Linked DNA regions of Homo sapiens: regions 1, 3 and 4 are each linked to region 2. Evidence: promoter capture Hi-C in 16 types of primary human blood cells and fetal thymus (Javierre and others, 2016). All regions are on one chromosome and are shown on one strand. The core of a region is centred on a gene start or on the middle of the fragment in contact, and the rest is flanking DNA. Distances in the headings are between cores, read along the strand shown. Region 1 overlaps INPP5A (inositol polyphosphate-5-phosphatase A). Region 2 holds the start of LINC03068 (long intergenic non-protein coding RNA 3068). Region 3 overlaps DPYSL4 (dihydropyrimidinase like 4). Region 4 overlaps INPP5A (inositol polyphosphate-5-phosphatase A).

Region 1 (6,378 bases), core at 1,395-3,894, 220 kb before region 2:
TTGGCCTCTTCTGGTTGGTCCCTGAACCTCTCTGTGCCTCAACATCTCTATCTGTGACACGGGGAAGACAAATAACAGTACCCACTTCATAGGGCTGCTCTGATCCCTGCATGGGTGGCACATGTAAGGCACATGAAACAGTATCAGGAAGCTCATGTGCCAACGGCTATTCCAGGAGGTGTTGGTGCTGCTTCCTGTCAGCACCTTCCCATGCTGGAGGAGCCGCAGAATACGGCCCCAACACATCCTTGGCTGATGATGGGATCAACAGGCATGGCAGGAAGGGCTGTGCCAGCCAAGAAGGTTGTGTCCTTCCAAAGCAAGGAGGTAGATACCGAAGCAGAAAGGGTGGAGTCAGAAGCAGGGAGGGCGGAGTCCAGAGCAGGGAGGGCCGAGTCCGAAGCAGGGAGGGCGGAGTCCGAAGCAGGGAGGGCGGAGTCCAGAGCAGGGAGGGCGGAGTCCGAAGCAGGGAGGGCGGAGTCCGAAGCAGGGAGGGCGGAGTCCGAAGCAGGGAGGGCACAAGCCTCGCCGCAGCCCACGTTTGAACTCTCCACTCCTAAGTCATCTGTGCCTCCCTTGGGCCCAGGGGAGGCCACGGCTCCAGGGGCCCCAGTTGCCCACTGGCCACCAGTGTGACCCACTGTCCCAATCAGAAGGGAGAGACAGGGACACTCCTGACAGATGGAGGCGTGCCCACATGCCCATGCCTCACTCCAGAAGGAGTGGGCCACCTGCTGCTTCCAACAATATGAAAGAGAGACCTTCTCTTTTCTTTACTGAGGCCAAACCATGAGCAACCCTTACGGGAAAAGACATCCAAAGAAAGCTATCTCCCACTAATGGCCCTGTTATAAATTAGACCTGACTGACAAAGACCAAGGAAAAGTGACGCCCGTCAAGCCGTCACCGCCGTTTGCAGTTTCTCCACTTTGGCACCGCTGTCCTGACCACATGAATATCCATCATTTTCCTTAAAAAAAAAAAAAAAAAAAAAAGAAAGAAAGACACTGCCAAGAAATCAGTTTCTATAGGACAAGGAGCTGGGGAGATACGGGGTCAAGGGAGGCTTCTTCCCTAAGAGGGAAATGCCTGCCTGTTTGCTCACAGGGGTGACCCGGCACAAAGGGAGACTGGGTGTTCTGGGGAGAAGACAGGCTCCCCACTGGGACCTCCCAGAAGGCCACAGGGATGCGCGCAGGCAGGGTGAAGACTTAGCTGTGCTGTGGGCAGCAGAGGGGCAGGGGACAGGTGTGCCCCAACCACTCTCCCCCCAGCAAGGAGGGGCTGACAGTGTCCTCCTGCTTCTGGGCCAGGGCTGTGCTGAGAAGCAAGCCAGCCAGGGGCTGGGGACTACAGCAGAGGAGAGGCTGAAGATGGGGGCTGTGGGGTGGTGTCAGGGGGTGTGGGGGTCAGGTGCGGGTTCTGGGAGTGCGCACTCAGAGGATGTAGGGTCAGGGGGTGTGAGGTCGGGGGGGTGGGGTCAGGTGCAGGTTCTGGGAGTGCACAGAGGATGTAGGGTCTGGGGTGTGGGGTCAGGTGTGGGTTCTGGGAGTATGCAGAGGATGTGGGGTCAGGGGTGTGGGGTCAGGGGGTGTGGGGTCAGGGGGTGTAGGGTCAGGGGGTGTGGGGTCGGGGGGGTGGGGTCAGGGGGTGTGGGGTCAGGTGCAGGTTCTGGGAGTGCGCAGTCAGAGGGTGTAGGGTCTTGGGGGTGGAGGCTGAGGGTGTGGGTTTCAGGACGTGGGGTTTAGGGATTGGAAGCTGAGGACATGGGGGCTGAGAACGTGTGCAGTGAGGGCATGGGGGCTGGGGGTGTGGGGTCAGTGGCTGCAGAGGGATTTTCTGCAAAGAGGTTGGTGACCCTGGGGACCCAAGAGAAGATAAGAGTTTGGACAAAAGAAAGACCTGAGAGGGCTAGAAGGGCTGTGCAGGGCTGCACCCTGAGGACAGAGAGGGAGCAGTCACCAGCGGGTCCTGGCTCCCTGGGGGCTCAGCAAGGCCACAGTGGGGACAGGGACACGGGAACAATGCCCTTCCAGAAACCCAGGTCCACGCTCACGCCAAAATCCCAATGGCATCTACCCACATCTCACTTGGAGCTGCACATCTAGAGTCCAGCACGAACCGCGCCCGCCCTCTCTGCCCATGGGGCACGCACAGGCAGGCCCCACATCCTCCAAGCTTGACCAAGTCACTGTCAGACTAAGGACACATGAATGGTGTCTGCAAGCACGTAAGAGAAGCAGAACCACTTTCAAGGACGCAGCTAAGCCAGGCTGAAATGTCACCGACGGTCCCCCAGGAGAACACGGGGCCTCCTCGAGCAGCTGTTTCTGCCCTGTCACTTGCCACTCCTCCACCACACCCCCAGCTCCCTCTCGTTCTGTGGTCCCGTGAGGACGTGCTACATAGAAAGCCTTGAGGTTAAGAATAGGAGCCTGCATTGTGCCCCTCAGAGTAGGCCACAGTGGGCACCAGGGAACCCGCCTCACAGGGAAGGCCTGGCCCGGCAACACCTGGCGCTCACGGGGCTACTTCCCAGCTTCACACAAGCTGGTGCTACTCACCGGCTGTTTGTTTGTTTATTTTGAGATGGAGTCTCACTCTGTCTCCAAGGCTGGAGTGCGGTGGCACGATGTCTGCTCACTGCAAGCTCCGCCTCCTGGGTTCACGCCATTCTCCTGCCTCAGCCTCCCGAGTAGCTGGGACTACAGGCGCCCACCACCACGCCTGGCTAATTTTTTGTATTTTTAGTAGAGACGGGGTTTCACCATGTTGGCAGAATGGTCTCTATCTCCTGACCTCGTGACCCACCCACCTCGGCCTCCCAAAATGCTGGGATTACAGGAGTGAGCCACCATGCCCGGCCTCACCGGCTGTTTCTTAACCTTCCTGTGTCTCCGGCACCCCAAAGATAAAGTGGGGAAATGATCCCCCAGAACAAAGCCTCACAAGCAGTACACGCTCAATAAACGCCAGCAGTGGTGGTCGTGCGATGGAGCTCGGCAGTTTTTAAAGAAAGCCACAGAAATGGACCAAACCCAGAGCACGGTCAACAGGGGCTGAAGCCCCCTGAGCTATTCAGAGAGGGGTGAAGTGGGCCGCAAGCTTTTAAATCCTACGGAAGAGAATAAAAACATCAGGAGGAATGATAAGCCCTTCTAATGCTCCCTGTGCAAATTCATGTTTAATTTGAGGAGAAATATCAACATTTTTTCATTTCCCTGATCATGCTTTAATTAAATCTCTAGCCCACTGTTTAAAATAAAGCCATTATGGATAGTGATCAAGAATTTCATCACTCCCTACTGAACTATAAAATCAATCACTTAACTTTTTATTATATAACCTCTGAAAAGTGAAACAGTTTGAGGTTACAGGATTTGAAGTGCTCTGATTTTCGCCAAAAGAAGTCCGTCAAATGTGCTTCTGAGAAACTCATGTTCTGCTTCATTTCCATATTTTTTCCATGGCAGCATCAATAAGTTACAGGGCGTCACTTTGCCCCCTAACCACCAACAGAAAGCCTCAACTGAAAGGAGGCCGAGGCCATCAGCCCATGGCAGGAACGTGAGGCTCTCGTGTCATTTCACCTAAGAAAGGATCAGTGACACCTGAGCCTGGGATCTGCCACTGGAATTTTCAAAAGTCAAGTGTGGGGCTGGGCTGCAGGAGCCCATTAGTCCCTCACCACCACACCAACCCTGCAAGGCCGGCAGACTCCAGTACACTCAAAAAACTGAATAACTTTGTTTAATGTTGCCTAGAAATAAGGAAAAATAACAAATACTTGTAAAAGTTACACTTGAAAGATCTCCACTCCAACTTATGTTCAATGTACTTAGCAAAAAGGTCAAAGCTCCGGAATTTGCTGGATAAATAAATGTTGGTGAGGCGGATGAATCACTGGAGAATTGGTGCATGGCGGCGAATGAATAACCTGCAAATGCCTCCCAAACCCCATTATTTCCCCTTTTCCAAGAGCCCAAGATTCATGTCCCCGCATGCCGCCAGTTCATTACCGAGAAATATCATCCCTCTTCCGGCTCGCGCCGGGCAGCGCACACGGCCCCCTGAGGACCCTTTAATGTTTAATTCCCCATCATCTGCTCCACTGAACAGCTTAATCTCTGCTTGTATGATCAATACTATATCAGTGTAAATTAAAATGACAATTTTAAAGTAATTAAGCCTGTTAATGCTCGATTCAAATGTCATTATTTGCACAAGGGATTGAGGAGAAATTACATCGTGTCCGGGGTGACAGGAAGCTGTCTGGGCCTCTTCAGCCCCGCTGTGCAGGGCCACTGGAGGCTTCAGCAAAGCAGATTAACTTCTGCCTCGCCCTGCCAGCATGCCTATCCAATTTCTAAAGAGGATAACGCAATTTGATAAATTTAATTCCAGCTACAAACTCAATTATTGTGATAATAGATGAAAACTGGGAGGAGCCTCTGCACAAGGCCCACAGTTTTAAAAACACACTTAACTCCAGAACGAGCTTCAACAGTAATGGCTTGATTTGATTTGTTCTCTCTCTTTTGAAGCCCCTTTAAATAATTATGATGGTTGGAAGAACAGCCGACATTTATTAAACAGCCGAGCTCCAACCAAAAGGGGCTGCGGCTTAGACAATCCAGGTCATACTGGAAACGTCTGCTGTCCTGAGCTTGTACAGCAGCATTTATTAGACAAGCACATCATTACATTATTGGATCTCATAAATAGATATATAAAACTCAGCCAGCCTCAGATGAAACCTCCCTCTTGCTCAACACTGGCGGGTCTGCCCCAGCTTGGAAAGCGGCATCCAGCAGGACCCTGCCATTTTTTTGTCCCAGGTGGCAGAGGGGGTTGGGGGTGAGAGGAATTAATGAAAATAACTTTTTTAAAAACCACCTTTACCCTCCTATGATTCCCAGCACACTCAGTACACATTATGACTCAAGTTATCTCCAACGAGCTCTCAATGCACAGATATCTTTCTCTACCCGAGTCCACTTACGGATGAGGTGGGTGGGTAGCCTGCCGAGAAGGTCTGCACAGCACACGCTGGGGGCCGCTTTAAGGGGACAGCTGCAATTGCTGGACTTCATCCATTAGGTCAGCAATAAAAATTGACAACCAAACATTAATTTCAAGATGAAGAGCACAGTGTAACAATTTCCGTTTGAAAGATGTTTCGGCTCGGTGTGGGCCATCCTTCAGGGTTTTCCCAGACAATTCCAGATGCTGCTGCACTCCAGAAGGAAAGAGAGCCCCACTGCAAAGTCGGCAGCCTCGGGATGGTGCGCCACGGGGCCAGCGGTTTTGGGTGATCCGACAGGGGTTTTTTTGTGGCTGTTTTCAAACCCAGTGATGTATACTTTAATACTTTAACTGTCTAAATTCCACCTTTTCCATACAGGAGGGAGCTGTACAGCTGGTGTCTCTTCACTGCATGCTTGAAAGGCCCTTATCCGTTACCTCCCTACTGCCTACGATGACTTCACAGTTCCTCAAGTTTCCCCCAGCCAGCAGAAATCAGATTTAAAACCAGTGAAAACATGGAATAATGTGTTCAAATGGCTCTCCCTTTCTGTCGGTTTAAACATAAATATCCCTGACTATGAATTACTCCCCCAAGTTCCTAGATGAATCATAGTGAGGAAGTAATGATGCATTATAACAGTCACGACATGGGAGGAAGCGCTGAGTAAAGGCCAGGCACACAGTGACTCAGTTTTAAGGCAAACCTGGTAAAGGACTAATGTGGTTATATCATTCTTCTCTTTTTTTTTTTTTTTTGAGACAGGATCTTGCTCTGTTGCCCAGGCTGCAGTGCAGTGGTGTGATCTTGGCTCACTGCTACCTCCACCTCCCAGGCTCACACGATCCTCCAGCCTCAGCCTCCCAAGTAGCTGCGACTACAGGTGCACGCCATTGCAGCTGGCTAATTTTTGTATTTTCAGTAGAGATGGGGTTTCCCCATGTTGGCCAGGCTGGTCTTGAACTCCTAAGCTCAAGCAATTCACCTGCCTCAGCCTCCCAGAGTGCTGGGATTACTCCTAAGCTCAAGCAATTCACCTGCCTCAGCCTCCCAGAGTGCTGGGATTACTCCTAAGCTCAAGCAATTCATCTGCCTCAGCCTCCCAGAGTGCTGGGATTACTCCTAAACTCAAGCAATTCACCTGCCTCAGCCTCCCAGAGTGCTGGGATTACTCCTAAGCTCAAGCAATTCACCTGCCTCAGCCTCCCAGAGTGCTGGGATTACTCCTAAGCTCAAGCAATTCACCTGCCTCAGCCTCCCAGAGTGCTGGGATTACTCCTAAGCTCAAGCAATTCACCTGCCTCAGCCTCCCAGAGTGCTGGGATTACAGGTGTGAAGCACTACACCCAGCC
Region 2 (6,464 bases), core at 161-2,660:
GGTCCAGAGTGGAGGCTCAGCCTTGGGCCTCAGTCCGCTCCCGGCCCGGATGTGAGGGTGGGTCGCAGCTGCACGGCCTCGCTGCCCACCAGGCCTGCGGAAGGGAGGACACGCCCTCCCACAGACCCTGTGATGGCGGCTGCCATGGAAGGTGTCTAGGCCCTTTTGGGCATCCCCTGCCCCCGTCTAGGTCCCCAGGTACTTGCAGAAAAGAAGGGGTGAGCACAGCCTTCTGTAAGGGGGCGCCCGAGTCCTGGCCAAGGTGGCCGCCCACCCTGGGGCTCCACAGTCCAGGCAGCCACCTCTTCAGTCTCTCCCCTTAATGTGGGGCAGAGTGGATAGAGGGACTCCCTCCTCTGACCAGCCAGGCAGGCAGGGAAACCCGGGCACGGGAGCCCAGGGCTGGTGGCCATGCCCTGAGGGAACTGGCTGCACTTGCAGCCCAGGCCACAGGCCCCAGGACACCCCAGACCTCTTGGCAGGACCCCAGGGTTAAAAGGCAGTTTGTGGCGCCACTTCTCCCCTGATGATGGACACCTTGAAGGGGCTCTGGGCACCAGCGGAACAAACGTCATAGGGAAACTCAGCAGCTGACCTACCACCAGGACCCACCTGTCCTCTGCCCTCCCAGAATCCTGGTCATGCGTCCAGCAAGCTCCCAGGGAGGACACGCCAGGCACTGGGCCCATGGACACGCTGTAGAGAAACGCCGCAATCGTTAGGGGCATGTGACTAAGACGCCTCCTTCCCATAGGCACCCACGGGGTGCGGCTCTTTCCAAAACGCCACATTAAAACAGCTGCAGGAGGACCGAAGGGGCCTCGTGCCCATCCCCTGCTGCTACTCCCCAGCCCGCCCTCAGCCTCCTGCCGCTGGAGCTCTGCCCACCTGCACACCCCACTCTTCTTCATCCCCAGCCCCATAAGCGAGACTACCTTGAGGCCAGTAGGTGCTTCCTGAGAGTTTAGGAATAACAGGGGAACTACAGCAAATAGCAACAATTTTAAAAGCAAACAAGGCATCAGCCCTTGCCATCCTCAAGCCGTGACCACCCCTGCCCAGGACGGAGCTCCAGCGGCTGCACACTTCCCCCAGGGCTCGCCCTGCAGCTACCTCTCAGCTCCTGGGAGGAAACTCCACATTTCAGCTGCTTTATACCCAGAGAAGCCTCCTGCCTCCCTTCCCAGTCCTGGCAGATCCTGGGCCTCTCCTGCCTGCCTGGCCTCTTGGAAATAACTGGCTGAGCCTCTCTGTGTGTCTGGCACAGCATGGGGCCCAGAGGCCAGAGCCACCGGAGGTACCCTGCAGAGAGGGTAGGGTTGCAAAATCCTCCCCCCCACCCCCACAACTGCAGAACACACCCTGGGCCCAGCTGGGCTCTAGAGGTGCCCAGGAGAGGGAACTGAATTATTTCAGGAATTGGAGATGCCCCTGTGGCTGAGGAGGAGCTGGGGCTGGGGCCGGGGCCAGGGCCGGGGCTCTGACCTGCCACTCTGCCCCACATTAAGGGCAGAGACCGAAGAGGTGGCTGCCTGGACCTTGGAGCCCCAGGGTGGGCGGCCACCTTGGCCAGGACTCGGGCGCCCCCTTACAGAAGGCTGTGCTCACCCCTTCTTTTCTGCAAGTACCTGGGGACCTAGACGGGGGCAGGGGGCCTGGGGGTCTGGGCCTGGGGGCCAGACCCTCCATCATTTCCTAGGCTGGTGCTCAGAAATGGAGGAATCTCAGGACAGGTCCCTGTGGTCTACGGGGTGGCAGGCCTGAGGCTGGCCCTCTCTGCAGAGGACACCTTGGGGGCTGCTGATCAGCCTTGAGGCCAGAGATGGCTCTCACCTGCTTCCCCGTCACAGGACCAGCACTGTCAGCCTCACCTGGAGGCTTTCTGCAGGGCTGGTTCTCTTGTCCCATCAGTGTCTGTGTGGGGTCACCCTGTTCCCCTAGGAGGGTGGGTCTGCAGGGGGGAAGCCAGAGTGGCCCTTGGAGACCTCAGGACCCCAGAGGGAATGAGCAGGGAGCCTTGAGGGTCTGGAGGAGGAATTCAGAGAGGCAGGAAGCCGGGGAGCCCTGAGGAGAGGCGAGAGGGAGTGAGCGAGCGGGGGAGGGAGTGAGGGGGGAGGGAGCCCTGAGGAAGGGGAGGGGAGTGAGCGGGGAGGGAGTGAGGAGGGAGGGAGCCCTGAGGAGAGGGGAGGAGAGTGAGTGGGAGTGAGGGGGGGAGCCCTGAGGAGAGGGGAGGAGGAGTGGGGGGGTGGGGAGCCCTGAGGAAGGGGAGGGGAGTGAGCAGGGAGGGAGTGAGGCGGGGAGCCCTGAGGAAGGGGAGAGGGAGTGAGTGGGGAGGGAGTGAGGGGAGGGAGCCCTGAGGAAGGGGAGTGGGGGGAGGGGAAGGGTGAGGCAGGAAGCCAGGGAGCCCTGAGGAGAGGGGAGAGGAGTGAGGGGGAGGGGAAGGTGTGAGGGGAGTGGGGGTTGAGAGGAGAGGGAAGGAAGGGAAGGGGGAGGGGAGGGCGATGGGGGAGCCCCCACAGACACCCCAGCTGCTGGCTGGGCGCTGGGCACCCCCCAACCGTTGGGCCTTGCTCCCACTAGGGGCAGTCGTGTCCCAGCCCCACAGTCAGGTCTGAGTCAGGGACCCGTGGCGCCCGCCCTCCCTCAGCTGAGCTCACCAACAGCTGAGAAATATTCATTTAAAAAAGCCCCCATTAAAGAGCTAACTCATTGCTGACACTGCAACTTTTTATTTTATTTTATTTTATTTATTTATTTATTTTGGAGACGGAGTCTCGCTCTGTCGCCCAGGCTGGAGTGCAGTGGCGTGATCTCGGCTCACTGCAAGCTCCGCCTCCCGGGTTCACGCCATTCTCCTGCCTCAGCCTCCCGAGTAGCTGGGACTACAGGCGCCCGCCACCACGCCTGGCTAATTTTTTGTATTTTTAGTAGAGATGGGGTTTCACCGTGTTAGCCAGGATGGTCTCAGTCTCTTGACCTCGTGATCCACCTGCCTTGGCCTCCCAAGGTGCTGGGATTACAGGCGTGAGCCACCGCACCTGGCCTTATTTTATTTTATTTGAGACAGAGTCTCACTCTGTTGCCCAGGCTGGAGTGCAGTGGCACGATCTCAGCTCACTGCAACCTCCGTCTCCTGGGCTCAAGGAATTCTCCTACCTCAGCCTCCCAAGTAGCTGGGACTAAAGGCGTCCCCCACCATGTCCAGCTAATTTTTGTGTTTTTAGTAGAGATAGGGTTTCACCATATTGGCCAGTCTGGTCTTGAACTCCTGACCTCAGGTAATCTGCCCACCTCGGCCTCCCAAAGTGCTGGGATTACAGGTGTGAGCCACCACACCCGGCCTGCAACTTATTTTTATATTAAAAAATTTGAGTCCTTAGAGGACGGAGGCCTACAGAGCCATGGGCCAGGCAGAGCAGAGGCAAGAAGGCAGAGGTGAGGGTGGCACCGTCCCCTGCCGGGGCCTGCAGTGTCATCTGGGGCTGGATCTCCAGGCCCCGTCCTCCTGCGACCACCTCGCTGCCCATGTGAACCTGTGGTCAGCCCCGGGGACCTCGGGGAGGCAGGAGGAAGTGTGCACCCTGCCCTGCCTGCTGGCTGGGAGCCCACGGGGTGGGCAAGGGGTGGGCAATGCCTTGTGACGTCTCCCATGTGGCTTCCTTCATTTTTTCTGAAGTGCCCTGGTCCTTTTCCTTCTTTTTAAACATTTTATTGTGGATGTGTCCCACCCCACTTAAGGAAGAGTCTAGTACCTCATGCCGGCCGCCCCGTCCTGGCCCCCCGCCCATTCCGGCCCCCCCATTCCGGCACCCCATTCCAGCCCCCCCATTCCGGTCCCCCCATTCCGGCCCCCGCATTCCAGGCCCCCCATTCTGGCCCCTCCATTCTGGCCCCCCCATTCCAATCCCCCATCTGCCCCCCCCATTCCGGCCCCCCCATTTCAGCCCCTCCATTCTGCTGCTGTCCCTTGGTGTGTGAATGTTTCCGTTTGTCTCTACAAGATCACGAGTTCCCTGCGCTGAGCTCTTTTTCCTTTCCCCTTCCCCAGCGCCCCTGCTCTGTGCTGCATTTGGAAAGAACCTAAATGTCCTCCCTCTGAAGACTGGTTAAACATCTGGTTATGATCCAGTGGTAAGCAGTGCCTCCCTTGGGTTAAGAATACACACGCACACATGCATACACATGCGTAAACACACACATGTACACACATGCACACTCATACACTCACATGCCCACTTATACACATACATGCACACATGCACTCCTAAACTCACATGCATGCGCACACACGCACATGCACACACACGTGCACACACACACTCATACACATATACGTACACACATGCACACACACGTGCACACATGCAATGCACTCATACATACATGCACACATGCGCTCCTACATTCACACACACATGCGTGCACACACGCACACGCACATGCACACTCACGCAAGTCACACGTGCACATACGCACATGCACACTCATATGCACACACGCACACCCACACTCACATGCATACGCACCTGCTAACAGCCCTGAGGAGGGAACCCCGGGTTAACAGGAGCTGCCCCTGAATGTGTGAGGGATGGGCTGGTTTAGGATACCATGCTTGGCTGTCAATATTTTGTAATTGTTCTGTAAAAAGAGTGGATTCATTTTGTAATAAGCAAATAAGCTTAAAAAAGAAAAAGAAATCTGGGATCAGGAGAATTCGGGGTTTTACCCACCTTCGCTTTAAATTCCATTTCTGCTCTCAATGTTTGGTAATGGTTTCACGGCCTTTTCAATTGCTCACGTGAGTGTTTTCAACCACCAGCTCACGTTTCTGGAATCCGTTCCTTTGGCTGTGCCACTTGTGATCCCTTCTGCTCCAACGTTTGCCTGGGGAGCTCATTAGGTAGCCAGGACCCTGGGCCACTGCACCCCACCAGGACGGCAGGACTGAAAAGGCCACTGACGTGAGTGCGGGGAGGTCGGGTGGAGATGAGCTCAGCCCGGCTTAAAGTGGGGCATCCCGACACCCCCAAAGGCATGGGGCAGGAGCGGCGGGGCGAGTGTCTTGCCAGGCTTAAGGCTCTAGGACCAGAAACCGGGCTCAGGGAGAGGCTCCTGGGTTGAAGAGTGGCCGTGGGGGCTCAGGAAGTCCTGCCCCAGCCTTTCCTGTGCTGCTTGAGTTCTCACTCTATGAGTATATTCTGACGAAAATGAAAATTAGAACATGAAACCTCCCTTTCTCTTCTGCTGGCCTCGAGGGTACACATGCTGTCGGCTGGCGGAGTAGGCCCTGTCCCACCGCAGGCAGCATTCTGCAGGCCAATTTGAGAGGCCTAGTGCCTGCCACGCAACCACCCTCGGCCCTGAGCCGTCTTCGAGGAATGGGGTCCCGGGCCCTGCAAGAGATGCCTGGTGCTGGGCATCACTCAGCCTAGTGTGAGGGAACCCATGGAGTGGAGATGGCAGGGCGTGGGGGGGTCCTGAGAGCCAGAGTCTGCACCACAGTGGTGGCTGGGGCCATGGACAGTGGGGCTCAGGGACGCTGCTGAGGAGACAGTGGGCCCAGATCCTGTGTGCTGGGGAGAGAGTGGGCCCAGATCCTGTGTGCTGGGGAGACAGTGGGCCCAGATCCTGTGTGCTGGGGGGGTAGACAGTGGGCCCAGATCCCGTGTGCTGGGCAGGGGAGACAGTGGGTCCAGATCCCGTGTGCTGGGGGGAGACAGTGGGCCCAGATCCCGTGTGCTGGGAAGACAGTGGGTCCAGATCCCATGTGCTGGGGGGAGACAGTGGGCCCAGATCCCGTGTGCTGGGGGGGAGACAGTGGGCCCAGATCCCGTGTGCTGGGGGGGAGACAGTGGGCCCAGATCCTGTGTGCTGGGGGGGAGACAGTGGGCCCAGATCCCGTGTGCTGGGAAGACAGTGGGTCCAGATCCCATGTGCTGGGCAGGGGAGACAGTGGGCCCAGATCCCGTGTGCTGGGAAGACAGTGGGTCCAGATCCCATGTGCTGGGCAGGGGAGACAGTGGGCCCAGATCCCGTGTGCTGGGAAGACAGTGGGTCCAGATCCCGTGTGCTGGGGGGAGACAGTGGGCCCAGATCCCGTGTGCTGGGCAGGGGAGACAGTGGGTCCAGATCCCGTGTGCTGGGGGGGAGACAGTGGGCCCAGATCCTGTGTGCTGGGGGTGAGGGTAGTGGGAGATGAGGGCAGCACTCCAGCTGTTTTGGGAGTGCCAGCCTGTGGTGGGGTGGGGGAAAGGCCCCCTCATGCAGGCACACATGCACACACACACGAGTCCACACACAGATGCACACAAATCCACAGACAGACATCCGCACATGCACACATGCATCCACACACAGGCGCACACACGCACACATGCGTCCACACGCAGGCACACACGCACACATGAACACACACATCCACATGCAGGCACACACATGCACACACACATCCACCCACAGGCACA
Region 3 (6,662 bases), core at 3,304-5,803, 240 kb after region 2:
GAGGCGGAACGCTCCGCCCTGCCCATGTGCGGCCCCATTTGCCCCTCGGCCGGGAGCGGCTAGGCCGGGACGCCCGTGGTCCTCACCCCTTGAGCTGCTTTGGAGACTCGGCTGCCAGAGGGAGGGCCATGGGCCGAGGCCTGGCATTCACGTTCCCACCCAGCCTGGCTGGCGGTGCCCACAGTGCCCCGGACACATTTCACACCTCAGGCTCGTGGTGGTGCAGGGGACAAGAGGCTGTGGGTGCAGGGGACACCTGTGGAGGGCATTTCCCGTGGGCCCCCGAGACCCGCCTAGATGGAGGAAGCGCTGCTGGGCGCCCTCTTACCGCTCACGGGGAGCTGGGGCCATGGATGGGACAGGAGTCTTTGTCCCTGCTCAGCCCGGAGGCTGTGCACGGCCCTCGTCACAAGGTGACCCTTGCAGCACAGGCCGCGGGTGCCCCAGGCTCGGCTCAGGTCTTGGAGGTCAAGGGCATGGGTTGGGGTAGTGGGTGGGGAGGTGAATGTTTTCTAGAGATTCAAACTGCTCCAGCAATTTCTGTAGTTTTCACCTCTGAGAATTACAATGTGAGAACCGCTCGATGTTGCATGTTCTGCGTACGTCCTGTGTCTGCCTGGCCGTCAGGCCGGTGCCTGCCGTTTCTGGTTGGCCTGGACTTGGGGCAGCCAGTGGGGTGGGCAGCTCCTCAGGGCAGAGCTCCCGGACCATGGCTTTGGGGTGGGTGCCTGTCTCCGTGGCCCTGGAGCCGTAAGGCTGTGGAAGGCAGAGACGGTCCTGGAGGCAGAGGAGCCCAGGACAGCACCGTGCACCGTGGAGCCACCGCAGTGCCGGGCAGTGCTTGGCCCTCCATAAAGGGACGTATCCCTCTCACTGTGGCTGGGTGGTTCTGTGGTTGGAACTGTAACTAACTGGGTAAACGGCCTGTGTGCTTCTCTCTGGTCTCGCTGGAGGAGGACGGGCTCAGCCCATCAGCCCAGCGCTCCAGACAGGCCTGTGCTGGTTTCCTCTGAGGAAATGGGTGTGGCGGGTCTGTGCCCCTTCCCAGGACAGCGGCCATAGTGGACATGTGCCTAGACCTGTGTCCATGAGCCCCACTGCACCCCTGGCAAACAGGGCCCTCCCGTCCTTGGCTGGGCTGCGAGATGGAGATGACAACGGCCAAAGAACATTTGGGGAAGAACCGGCCATGCCACGAGCAGAGTCAGAAGTCCGAGGGGATAGAATGCAGCTTCCCGTCCCCCACCCACCCCTGTCCTCTGAATCATGGCAGAAACTAGCCTTCCAGCCCTCAGCAGCTCACATGGGGGACACGGCACCCAAATCACCACCAGGAAGGGTGGCCCGGTCTCTGCGAGGGCCCAGAGGCGCCGTGTACTCGGTGGAAGTCTGGCGATGTCAGAGACAGGCTCGGGGCAAGGACAGGTGTGGGGGTTTGAATAAGTGCATTTGGGGAACATGGCAGGGTGGTGCACCTTGTCCTCCTTCGAGACACTGGTGAGGTGTGGGTGCTGTCTGGTTCCCTTGATCGCCCCCCACACTGGGGCAGAGTGGGAGATGCTGGTGTGGGGGACATCAGCTCCCACATCTGGGCCAGAGGGAGCCCCGGGAAGGAAATGCTGAGGGCCCAGGGCCTTCGCCTGGGATCTGCACAGCTTTATAAGCAGCCCAGGGTGAGAGATGGGCCTGTCTGTGGTTCCCAGAGACCACGGCAGGAAATTCTCTGTCACCATCGGTGCATGGGCAGGGGCCAGAGAACCGGTGGCACAAGGTGTCCCTGGCTCTCTGCTCAACAAACAGCGAGTGCCCAGTGACTGCGACCAGGCCCCGCTCTTGGGATGAGGACAACCGTCTGGGAACGTCCACGCACCCTTTGAGACACAGCACGCGCCAGCACCGCAGTCACACACCGGGGGCTCGGGTCAGCCTCATAGCTGCCCGGCCTTGAGTGCTGGGCCTGCGTCTGTGAGCAGCGCCCACCTGGGTGGCGGTGGTGTGTGCTTCACTTCCACACACTCCCGTGCATGCTCCCCGGCCTTCTGGGGTGGCTCGGGCTGTCCGGTGAGAATGTAGGCGGGGGGGGGGGGGGGCCTCTGTCCCGCCCTGGATGTTGGCTGCCCTCTGCCCCGCCCTGGATGTTGGCTGCCCTGCCGGCCCTCTTCCCTGTGAGAGGGTGCGCTCCTCCCTGCCATTGAGGGGAGAAGAGCTGCGGCTGCAGGAGTCGTCGGACCAGCCCACAGCCAGCCAGGCCCCGCCTGTGCAGAGACGGCGTGGGGGAGAGGAGACGGGGCCTTCCTTCCATGCACAGGCGGCTTCAAACCCAGACGTCTTTAATGGGCCTGATTCACATCAGAGGCAGGATGACTGCCTGTCCAGGCGGTGGGTGGCATGCACAGGTTCCTGGCTACAGTGTCCTCAGTGTACAAAGCTGCTACTAAGAAGCCTACGGAAATACACAATCTGTAATAAGAGGACAGTGTCTTCCTAAAGGATCGCAAAACTTCCCTGGATGAGGGCTACATGGAAGCTTAGGTGTGGGCCTTGGGGTGCGTAAAAGGGACCCTCCACGGGCGGGGCTGTGCTGCACCAAGTTCTGATGGGTCCCTGAAGTCTCAGCAGCTGTGTGAGCAGGAGGGCTCTGCGCCCACTTTCCTCCCAGGCCTGCGATGGGCACAGGCCTCTGAGGAGCGGCTGCGGGAGTGTAGGGCTCTGCGAGGCAGTGACTGGTGGTGGGGAGGCGGCGGCAAATGCCCACCAGGCGGGACTCGGCCCCTCGCCGGTTCACCAAGAAGCCTGGTGTCCAGCTGCTCCCACACTGTGAGCCCGGCAGGTTCCCTGTCCCCAGGCTGGGCCCAGCGGGCACTGGGGTGCCTGGGCTCAGGCTGCCGGCATTGTCCCTGCCATGTGGCTCCACCTCACCCTGGCAGTGACATCTCCCCAGGTTCAGCCCTTCTCTTGAGGGGCTCTTGGCAGCAGGACCTGGGACCCCACAAGGAGAGCCTGTGGGGAGGGGGAAGGCAAGACCGCCAAGCACCTTCGAGAAACTTCTACAAAAGAAAATGCTAAGGAGGGGGGCGAGTGCCCTGGGGCCCCCGCGGCCTCGGGTGGGGCCAGCACGGCTCACAGGGCCGGTCCTGGGCGTCTAGGAGAGAGAGGTGATGTTGGAGCGGCCGCCAGGTGGTGCCATGATCTTCTGTGCTGTGCGTCGGGCGATGTGGTCATCAGCCTGAGACCCTGAAGAAAGGGCACAGATGGGCAGGGGAGAATGAGGCAGGGGCAGGGGCCCTTCTATTCAAGGCGTGAGGCAGAGTCAGTGGCTGCGTCAGTGGGGCCAGGACTGCAGAGCCCCCGCACACCTGCCACCACCAGAAGGCCAAGCAGACCAGGTGCCCGGCAGGACTCCCATCCCTGAGGCCCGGGGTGCAGGTGAGGCTGCCCAGGAGATCATGAAACCTGCGGGGACTGTGGGCTGCAGGAAGCCCTTCCTGTCCCGAGAGGAACCCGGGCCAGTCCTGCCTCGTCCCTGCTCTGGGTTCCGGGTGATGAAAGGCTGCCCCTGGCCTCCCAGACAGTGCCGGGTTCTCAGGGACCTGCCCCCAGGCCTGAGTCCCCAGGAGGTGAGCAGGGCTTTGCTATCACCTTCCTGGGTCCGGAGAATGCACCAGAAGCGACGCCAGAGGCCGGACCCTGGCAGCCTGAGCCCTCCCAGGCATTCTCGTGTATCCCTCCAGGCCCCGGGACACAGCTCAGACCCTCCCTTGTGCCTCACGCTTGGTTCTGGGGCCTGCTGGGTGGGGACCTGGATTCCACATGATCCTGAGATCCTCGTCAAGGCCTCCCACCTCCCCTGAGGCTGGATCCATGCTCACTCCTGGGTTCCATGTGACAGCCTCACCCCAGTGCCACTGTCTTGAAGGTGAGGGTTCATCACAGCTGCCCTGGGCAGACAGCGGGCAGGAGGGGCCTCCCTAACTGGGCTCAGCCCTTGGCCCCCACAACACCCCCAGCAGCATCTCCTGCCCCAGTCCCCAGCTGGGTGCCTTCCGTGTGCAGCCCCTCTGGGCACAGGCTGGGCCCTGGTACCTGAGGCCCTGGATGCTCCGGCAGAGCCCCTCACCCCCACTGGTGCCCCAGGCCCAACTCACCAGATAGGCTGAACCCCGACTGATGTAGGTTGCGCACAGGAGGGACGGAGATCTTGCCTGGGCAGGACGCGCGGGCCGGAGCGCCACTCCCTGGCTTGGCAGGCACCATCACCTCGTGGACGGGCCCGTCATACAGTCCACGGGGCACACCGTGGATCTCCGCCAGCTGCCGGGGGGGTGGGGGCAGAGACAGGGCATGAGGGGCTGAGCCTGGGCAGCTGTGGGGCCAGAGATGGGGCATGAGGGGCTGAGCATGGGCAGCTGGAGGGCTGGGCCTGCTCTGCGCCTCTCCAGTGCCAGCTTCAGGAATTTGGGGCTGCCCTGGGGGGGTGCTCAACCCAAGTTCACACACGCCTCCCTCCTTGCAGTCCTCCCCATACGTGTATAATGCCCGCCTGCGGTCCCATCTGCATGTGTGTGCAAACGTCCCTCCCCTCAGTCTTACCAACACAGGTGCACATGCTCAACCTCCCTCCGAGGCCCCACGTGCACTTGTGTGTGCACAGACGCCACTGCGAGTGCCCCTGTGCGTGTGTGAAGCACCTGGTGGTCTGGGGAGACCACACCTGCTGCACCGTCAGACACGGATGATGCCGGGCAAGCGTGGCGTCACCACAGTAAGAGACTGGAAGGCCATGGGGGGGGGGCTCCCGTGGCTGAGCTCCTGAGAGCCCATGTGGAGAGGAGCACACGCCCCAGTCCACAAATCAGCGTGCACGTCTGTCCATGGGGAATCCCAGAAGGACCCACACTGAGGTCCAACTGGGCAGCTCCCGTGGGGAGCTAGATTTCTGCTCACTTTATATCTGTATTTTCTCTAACAACCGTGGATGACTTGGGTGGGACCCAGCTGCCGTTCACAGGCACTTGCAGAGCTGATCCAGGGCCTGAAGGTCCCAGTGCCATGGGGGCCTCCCCTGCCATCTTCCGGGAGCAGGCTCTTCTCCACTTAGACCCACCAGGGCCCTGGGCAAGCAGCGGCCCCGCTCTGTCTTCCTGACCCCTCGGGAGGCCGGGCCAGGTTGACCAGGGGTGCGTTCTGGGCCTAGAACTCAGCGCCCACCTGCCTACCTGCACAACACCCTTGCGGGTGCCGCCCTACCCTGTTGCGAGCTTTGATCCTCTTGTAGACAAAGTCCGGGAATGTTTTCCGAGGGACGAAGCGGCCCGCCCCCGGGGTGACAAACATCTTCCCGTCCTCCAGCGCCACTCGGCCCTGACTTATGACCACGGCAGGCGCTCCCCGGCACTCCACTCCCTCGAAGATGTTGTACTCCACGTTCTGGGGAGAGAGGCCCGAGGGTCCAGTGCCTCCACGCTGGGGCCCAACAGTCCCATCCCCGTTGAGCCGCTGGAGCACTGTGGCCGCCCAGCGTGGAGCAGGCCCGGTGTGCCTACACTGAGCCCCTAGCAAGATGCTGGAACTGAGGGGTTGGAACTCGGGAGGAATGCCCCCCCTCGGCCTACGGACCTCGTTTCTGAGTCCCGTTTCTCTCGAGGACAAAGGGGACAGGCGTGGGCAGGCAGGGAGGGTCACTTCTCCCTTGGCTAGGCAGGTGCACACGGCACCGCTCTGCCCCAGCCTCCTCCATGGCACAAGGGGACCACAGATGCAGCGGCCACGCAGCGAGGTGACGTGGACAGGGCCCATTTCAGTGTCTGGCCTGGGACAGGCTGTGTGGACGGCCCTGGGATGGCTGAGGCCACTGCTGCTGCCACGTGGGCCTCTGTCCTGCGCCTCTCCTGGGAAGGCTGCCCTGGGGTCCCGGCCCCACAAAGGCCAACCCTGACTTACAGCCGCCTTCTCTTACCAGATTGTGGGTCTTGGCAGAGATGATCTTGGTGGCCTTGGGGTTCCATATGACCAGGTCAGCGTCAGAGCCCACAGCCACTCGCCCCTTCCTTGGGTAAAAATTGAAGATTTTGGCAGCATTTGTACTGGTCACCGCGACGAACTCATTCTCGTCCATCTTCCCAGAGGCCTGGGGAACAAGAAGGCTGAGCTGAGGGCGACGGGTGGGGTTGGGGTGAGGCTTGCGCGAGGACAGACACTGGGCCACCAGGACCCCACAAGGATGGATGCCAGGTCACCAGGCCCCCGTGAGGACAGACGCTGGACCACCAGGCCCCCCACAAGGTTGGACGGCAGGACACGGGGCCCCTGCCAGGTCAGATGCTGGACCGCTGGGACCCCACAAAGACGGATACCAGGCCCCCGTGAAGACGGGCACTAGAGTGCCACCCAGGCAGCCAAGATCAGGACAGGGCTCCAGCCACGGCCCTCGCCATGGCAACACTCAGGGTAAGAACGCCTGAGTAACCCCTGGGGTAAGAACGCTGCACTGGTGAGTCAGGGAGCCCATCTCAGTGATGCCTGCTGGTCTGCCCCTTCCTGGGCGAAGCCTTTCTGCATTCACTTTGTGGGTAAAGCTTCCACGAAGGTTCAGCGAGAGTGGAGCTTCAGTGGCAACACCTGTGTCCCCTGAAGGACGTGACAGTCTCCTTGGGGAGCCCTGG
Region 4 (6,291 bases), core at 1,086-3,585, 180 kb before region 2:
GACGTCTTCCCCTCATGGACGTCTTCCTCTCATGGATGTCTTCCCCTCATGGACATCTTTCCCTCATGAAAGCCTTTCCCTCATGGATGCCTTTTCCTCAAGGATGGCCTCTCTTCATGTATGCCTTTCCCTAGAGCTTGCCTTCCCCTCAAGGACACCCTCCCCTCATGGGCACCTTTCCCTTATGGACACCATCTCCTCATAGACATCTTTTCCTCAAGGACACCTCCCCTCAAGGACGTCTTTCCCTCATGGAGGCCTTTCCCTAGAGGACACCCTCCCCTCACAGACACATATCCCTGGAGGATGCCTTCCCCTCAAGGATGCCTTCCCCTCATGGACGCCTTCCCCTCATGGACGTCTTCCCCTCATGGACAGCTTTCCCTCATGGACGCCTTCCCCTCATGGACACCTTACCCTCATGGACGCCTTTTCTTCATGGATGGCTTTCCCTCATAGACGCCTTTTCCTGGAGGACATCATCCCCTCATAGATGCCTTTCTGAAGGATGTCTTTCCCTAGAGGGTACCCTATCCTCGAGGACGCCCTCCTCCATGAACACCTTTCCCTCATGGATGCCACCTTCCCCTGGAGGATGCTTTTCCCTCGAGGATGACGTTCCCTCAAGAACGCTTTGCCCTCAAGAACACTCTCCCCTCAAGGACGCCCACCCTTCTTGGATGCCTTCCCCTTATGGACACTTTCCCCTTATGATTGTCTTTCCCTGGAGGGCAGCTTCCCCTGGAGGACACCCTGCCCTTGTGGACACCCCTCCCTCATGGATACCCTCCACTCATGGACCCTCCCTCATGGATGCCTTCCCTGGAGGACAGCTTCCCCGGAGGCCACCTGGCCATCGTGGATGCCATTCCCTTGTGGATACCCACCCCTCATGGATGCTCACGTGTGGAATGCATGTGGAGAACTGCCGCAGCACAGGGCTGTCCGCACAATGCAGAGGGAAGGGCCAAACCACGCAGCAGCAAGTGAACACTCATTCCACAGCCACTAGCACCAACCCTGGAGCCACACTGGAGACTTCCAGAAAAAGAGGGGACACAGAAGAACCTTCTGTTCAGGTCTCCCGTCGCCCCACAGCCAATCTTCCGCTATGCATGCAAATGTAACACAACTCCCTTCAAAGATGTACGATGAGATTTTTATCTTCAGCCACTTTCCTGAGTCACTGAAAGTTCATGAAGACACTGAACAGCTGCAGGGCCCTGGCTCGAGAGGATGGGGCCATTCGTCACCTGAAGTTGAGCAGGCGGGCAGCGCACTGCCCTACAACAGAGCTGGGGTTCCCTCACGTGGAGTCTGTGTTTCTGGAGCTCTTAGGAGGGGAGGGCTGGGGTCAGAGGGCAAGAGCAAGTTTGAGGCCACTGCTGTATAACACCAGGTAGCTTAAAGAGGAACCACCCATCTGCAGTGCTGGGGACACACGTCAGGCAGCCAAATGGACCCACCCTCGGCACCCAGAGGCCAAGAATGGGAATGCCAGGTGCTGCTTCAGCTGTAAGCAAGGAAGGGGCACTACCTGGCAGCCACCTCCCCTCGCTCCTGCCATCTGTGCGGCCACGGCTCAGGGTCAAACACACCCGGTTCTGAAGGCCACACAAAAACAGATAACATGTCTCATTAATAACTGTATACTGATTATATGTTGAAATGATAACATTCTAGATACACTGGGTGAAATAAAATATATTATTAAAATAATTTCACCTATTTCTTTTTGCTTTTTAAAATGTGACTCTTCAAACTTTGAAATGACATATGCACTTTACACACCATTTCTATTGGATGGGGCTGGGCTAGATTCTAAGAGAAGCTTTTGACCATCTTTCTATTGGAATTTTACATGTTCTCTTTCATTTATAAGAGTTCTTTATAAAAATTGTTAAACCAGCCTATTGTTGTTTTTAAAAATATATTCCCAGTCTGCCTTTTAATCACATTTAAACTCTAAGAGCCTAAGAAAAGTCCTGCCAGTTTTATTTACTCGAATCCATCAGTCTTTGCCTCTACAAATTCCTTCAACTATGTGGAGTTTAGAAAAGCCTTCCCCATCCGGAAAGGAAATAAACAGCCATGTTTCCTTCTACGTGTCCCCCACGCCACGCCCCCCCCCCCCCCCGCCACCAGAGCACATCTGGAGGGAGAGGGGGCGGCCACCATAGGGCACAGGGCTCCAGGCCCTCACAGCAGTTAGTGCTTCCTGAATGGTGCTGCCGGCCCGGTGGAATTCACTCTGTCACTCCTCACAGTCATTGCCAGCCATGGGTGCATGCTCACGAGGAAGCGGGGCACGGTGAGGTTACACAGCCCAGAAAGGGGAGCCTCCCATCAGTCTCCTCCCAGGGTCCACGATGGGCTCTCAGCCATGCCGGCCCTTACTGAGCTGGTAGGAATGGGCCTGAGCTGCGTCAGGCAGACAAGGATCACACTGTCTTCCAAAGGAGACCAGACCACTGGCAGGAGGTCTGCTTTTAGAATCTGGTTTGCGGTTAATTTCCACACTTGAGCCTAATCTAATGGTTGCTCTTCACCAAGAGTAGATCCGCAGCTGCTGATCAGAGCGCTGTGCTGTAAACACCCTCCTGGGCAATGGCAACCAGTGAAGACATCAACATCAACAACAAAGTCACCGAGTCAGATTCGCGTCCCTTATCTCCAGTTTCTCTCCACACCCGACGCCGCCACTCCAGCCTGGGCACCTCCCCCACACGGCTCTCTCCACGGCCTCACCCCTCCCGGTTTCCAATACTCCAACCAAAGGTCCTCACAAATCTGTCCGTGGCTGCCGTTACCCTGAGGATGAAGAAAGTCTGAAGCTTTTCACGGGGAAGAGGAGGCCCTGTGGCATCTACCCGTCTGCATCCCCTGTCTCGCCTCTCACTATAATCCCAGCCATCTCACACCCCCAGCCCCGGACCACACTGTGCTCGCTGCTTTCACCACGATTCCTGGAAGGTGTCTTTTTCGGCTCTCACTCCCTCGTTCATTTCACTTGTCATCCGCTGCACGTTGCTGGCAGCTGGGGACACAGAGGGAGTCGGGACAGACCAGGCACTGGCCCTCAAAGCACCCACTTCTGGCAGGGACGCTGCTGGACGAGGCAGCCACCGCGGACAGCTGCACGCATCTTGGGAGCCGCGCCCAGCACCGCCAGCCCCACCGCCCTCCAGACCCACCTGCTCAGCGGCCAGGACAGACCCTCTCAGGACAGGTGTGGAGCCAGCAGCAGCTCCCGGCCCCGGTCTCCCCGTGAAGCCTCCTGGGAGCACCCAAGGTGAGGTATTCCCAGCCTGTCCACCCTCAGCCCCTCCCTCGGTCGGCAGAGGCTCCATCACAAAATGCCACAGACCAGAGAGCCTAAACGAGACACGTATTTCTCCCAGTTCTGGAGCTGTCAGTCTGAGGCCAAGAAGCCGGCCGGTTTGGTTCCTGGTGAGGGTCCTTCCTGGCTCACAGAGCTGCCTCTGCGCCCTGTGGAGAGAGCCTGATCCCGTGTCCCTTCTTGTAAGGGCACCCATCCCATCCGGGGGGCCCACCGCATAACCTCATCTCACCCCATCACCTCCCAAAGGGCCCACCCCCCTCAATACCATTACACTGGGGTCAGAGCACAACCTATGAACTTGGGGGGACACAATTTGGTCTATGACACCCACCCCGCCCCAGTGCCAAGCACAGGACCAAACTACAGCCAAACAGACTCTAGCAGAACACACGACCCTTCGAGGGCAGTGGGGCATGAGCTGGGAGGGCCTCACACGGAGCCAACAAGGGGCCTCCCACAGTCGCCACAGGAACCCCTGCACTGCTGTGAGCTCGGGCTGTCCACAGGGCACAGCAGACTGCTAACGTGTGCATTCCACAGCAAGCCTTGACAATCTGTCTGTAAAGAATCTAAGTGCTGGCTAAAACGAACACCAGAATCCACCTTGTGGATACTGACAGAGGGCTCTTGTGCACACCCACAAAATCTCACTTCAGAACAGAGAGAAAGAATTGCACAGTCTGCGATCTTGAACACGCCAGCTCCCACAACTGTATATTGCTACGAGGCACTTAGCGGTGTCAGGGAGCCGAAAGGCAAAGGACAGCACCAACTGTGAGAGACACATGGAGTGACCAGGACTCCCACCTACTGGCTGCAGGCGTGACCAGGCACCTCACCTGGGCAGCTCCTTGAAGCCTTCAACACACACCCACCCTACAGCCAACAGTCTCCCTGAGGAATGGACCCAGGCAGAATGAAGGCGTGTGTCCCGGGAAGCCTGCGTGTCCACATGCACGGCAGCTTTGTTTAACCAGGCGAACCTGGATATAGCCCAGGTGTCACCAAGGGGAGAGTGGGGAGCGCAGAGTGGGCCCCACACAGCAGGATCCAGGACCAGTGCTCGTGATGACAGCACTGAGCCACAGTGTGTGACAACACGGAACTGGCTCAACACACTAGCACAGGGAAAGCAGGCGGGTGCCGCCACGTTCCCTGGGTCTCAGCGTGTGACGTTCTGGAATGGGAAAAACGGATCTGTGGTACCCGAGGGGCGGGGCAGCAGGGAAGAGGAAGATGGAAATTCCCCATTATGTTGGGGCGGGCACTATACAGGTGTGCGCATTTGTCAAAATCGAAGAAACATGCACCAAAGATCAATATATTTTACTGTGTATAAACTACCTCAAGTTTACAAACACTGTACACACACACACACAAACACACACACACACACACACACACACACACACACACAGAAGTCCTGCCAGCCCTTGCAGAGAAGCAGCCTCAGGTGAGTGGGAAGTTGGGCCAGGCAGGATGGCACCTCCCCCTCCAGAACCCCCTGCTCCGTGCAATGCCCAGGGCCAAGGCACGCCCCTGACCTCAGCCAAAGAAAGGAACTGAGAGTCACAGGGCCCGACCTTGGTCAGGAAGCCTCAGGACTGGCCAGGGGTCACCCCTTGCCCCTGCAGCAGAGGCTCCCATGTCCCCGGGCCTGCCCTTCAGTGCCCCTCAGCCAGCTGCCGGCCAGTCTGAGACCCCTGTGCCTCAAGGGGCTCCCAAAGCCTCCCCTCCTAGTCTCATCTACCCACTCCCCAGCTGGTTTTTCCTGCACCTCCCAGCTCAACTGCTTTCACTGGAATCCTGCCTGGGGTGTGTTTTGGGAGACCTCAAACCAAGACATGAATATTTATTGACTGCCTCCCTCCCTAGCCCAGGCATTGACTCAGAAGCTGGGAAATCATACAGTAATTCAGAAAGACACAGGGCCACAGAAAAAGATCCTGCTGAGAAAGGGGTGTGGGGTGGGATGACAGGAGCGGAGTAGGGAAAGCCTTGGGTTGAGCCACGTGAGGGGGAAGGACAGGGACAGGCAGGGAGCAGAGGTGCCGTCAGAGGGAGCGGTGGCCTGTGCGAGGTCCTGAGATGGCAGAGCAAGGCCAGCTGGAGGGAGGGAAGGAAGGAAGGAGGGAGGGGGAGGGGGGAGGGAGAGAGGGAAGGGGCGGGGCCTCCAAGGCTCAGCCTGTGAGAAAACTGAGGCAGGAGCAGGAGGCCCTGCAACCAACCAAGGAGAGTGGACTGTGGCGTGGGCAGGGTGGCAGCAGGGACAGTGACCAATGCCAGATGCCAGGGAGCCTCTGAGGGTGGCGGGGCAGCACCTGCTGACAGGTGCGATGCCACATGGGAGAAGAGGCAGATGCCACGGTGTGGGCCCTGGCACCGGCGGCATGGAGCTGTGTCAGCCAGGAGGGTGACACTGTGGGGCAGGCCAGGGCGGGGGTGGGGTGTGGAGCAGAGGACGGAGAAGCCCCTCTGGACATTCTAAGTCCGGCAGGCCACAGGGCATCCAGGCAGCTGGAACCAAGAGTCTGGAAGGAAAGGAGGGGTTTGGGTTTGAACAGAAAGGTGGGGAGTCCTGAGCATGTATGGAGGTGCTGAACGGGCAGAGACCACGGCCTACATGCCAGGCACCAAACAGGTGGGAATGGGAGGAACCGCACAGAAGACAGGAGCTGCCAAAGGGAAATGCACATTCCCCAAGTGCAGACACGCCAGTGGGAAGTGCAGACACGCCGGTGGAAGTGCAGACACGCCGGTGGGAAGTGCAGACACGCCGGTGGGAAGTGCAGACACGCTGGTGGGAAGTGCACGTGCCGGTGTGAGGTGCAGGTGTGCTGGTGAGGGCGCGCCGGTGTGAAGCACGGGCATGCCGGTGTGCAAGTGGCACCACAGCCAAAACAGCGAGCTCACACTTCAAACTCCTTCAAAGACCCCAGGCCTCTGTA

The links. The method cuts DNA at HindIII sites, captures the fragments that hold promoters and counts their contacts. A CHiCAGO score of 5 or more calls a contact.
Region 1: a contact is called between a fragment that was not itself captured here and the fragment with the promoter of LINC03068 in region 2, in 1 of 17 cell types (M0 macrophages). The highest score is 6.0, in M0 macrophages.
Region 3: a contact is called between a fragment that was not itself captured here and the fragment with the promoter of LINC03068 in region 2, in 7 of 17 cell types (naive CD4 T cells, activated CD4 T cells, naive CD8 T cells and 4 more). The highest score is 8.8, in naive CD4 T cells.
Region 4: a contact is called between a fragment that was not itself captured here and the fragment with the promoter of LINC03068 in region 2, in 15 of 17 cell types (naive CD4 T cells, total B cells, M0 macrophages and 12 more). The highest score is 13.8, in naive CD4 T cells.

What each region holds. Positions count from the first base shown.
Region 1 is chr10:132,665,461-132,671,838 of GRCh38, reverse strand. All of the region lies in intron 4 of INPP5A (inositol polyphosphate-5-phosphatase A), which reads right to left. Among named protein-coding and RNA genes, the nearest start is that of NKX6-2, 120 kb to the left of the region's middle. RefSeq lists an enhancer at 4,880-6,079. The HindIII fragment of the contact is 927 bases long and covers 2,181-3,107 here.
Region 2 is chr10:132,439,928-132,446,391 of GRCh38, reverse strand. LINC03068 (long intergenic non-protein coding RNA 3068) reads left to right here and starts at 1,410. Exons shown (of 3, transcript NR_184030.1): 1 at 1,410-1,620; 2 at 4,049-4,131. It overlaps LINC02870 (long intergenic non-protein coding RNA 2870), which reads right to left and starts at 1,203. Exons shown (of 3, transcript NR_149317.1): 1 at 1,114-1,203; 2 at 613-696. RefSeq lists silencers at 2,464-2,513, 2,614-2,663 and an enhancer at 6,302-6,464. The HindIII fragment of the contact is 13,459 bases long and covers 1-4,680 here.
Region 3 is chr10:132,201,411-132,208,072 of GRCh38, reverse strand. DPYSL4 (dihydropyrimidinase like 4) reads right to left here. Exons shown (of 14, transcript NM_006426.3): 11 at 5,957-6,127; 12 at 5,248-5,427; 13 at 4,146-4,311; 14 at 2,314-3,234. The coding sequence ends at 3,143. STK32C (serine/threonine kinase 32C) reads left to right here. Exons shown (of 12, transcript NM_173575.4): 12 at 1-581. The coding sequence ends at 63. Among named protein-coding and RNA genes, the nearest start is that of DPYSL4, 18 kb to the right of the region's middle. The HindIII fragment of the contact is 4,048 bases long and covers 2,530-6,577 here.
Region 4 is chr10:132,624,310-132,630,600 of GRCh38, reverse strand. The region is part of intron 2 of INPP5A (inositol polyphosphate-5-phosphatase A); the gene reads right to left. Among named protein-coding and RNA genes, the nearest start is that of INPP5A, 90 kb to the right of the region's middle. RefSeq lists an enhancer at 1-2,076. The HindIII fragment of the contact is 1,003 bases long and covers 1,834-2,836 here.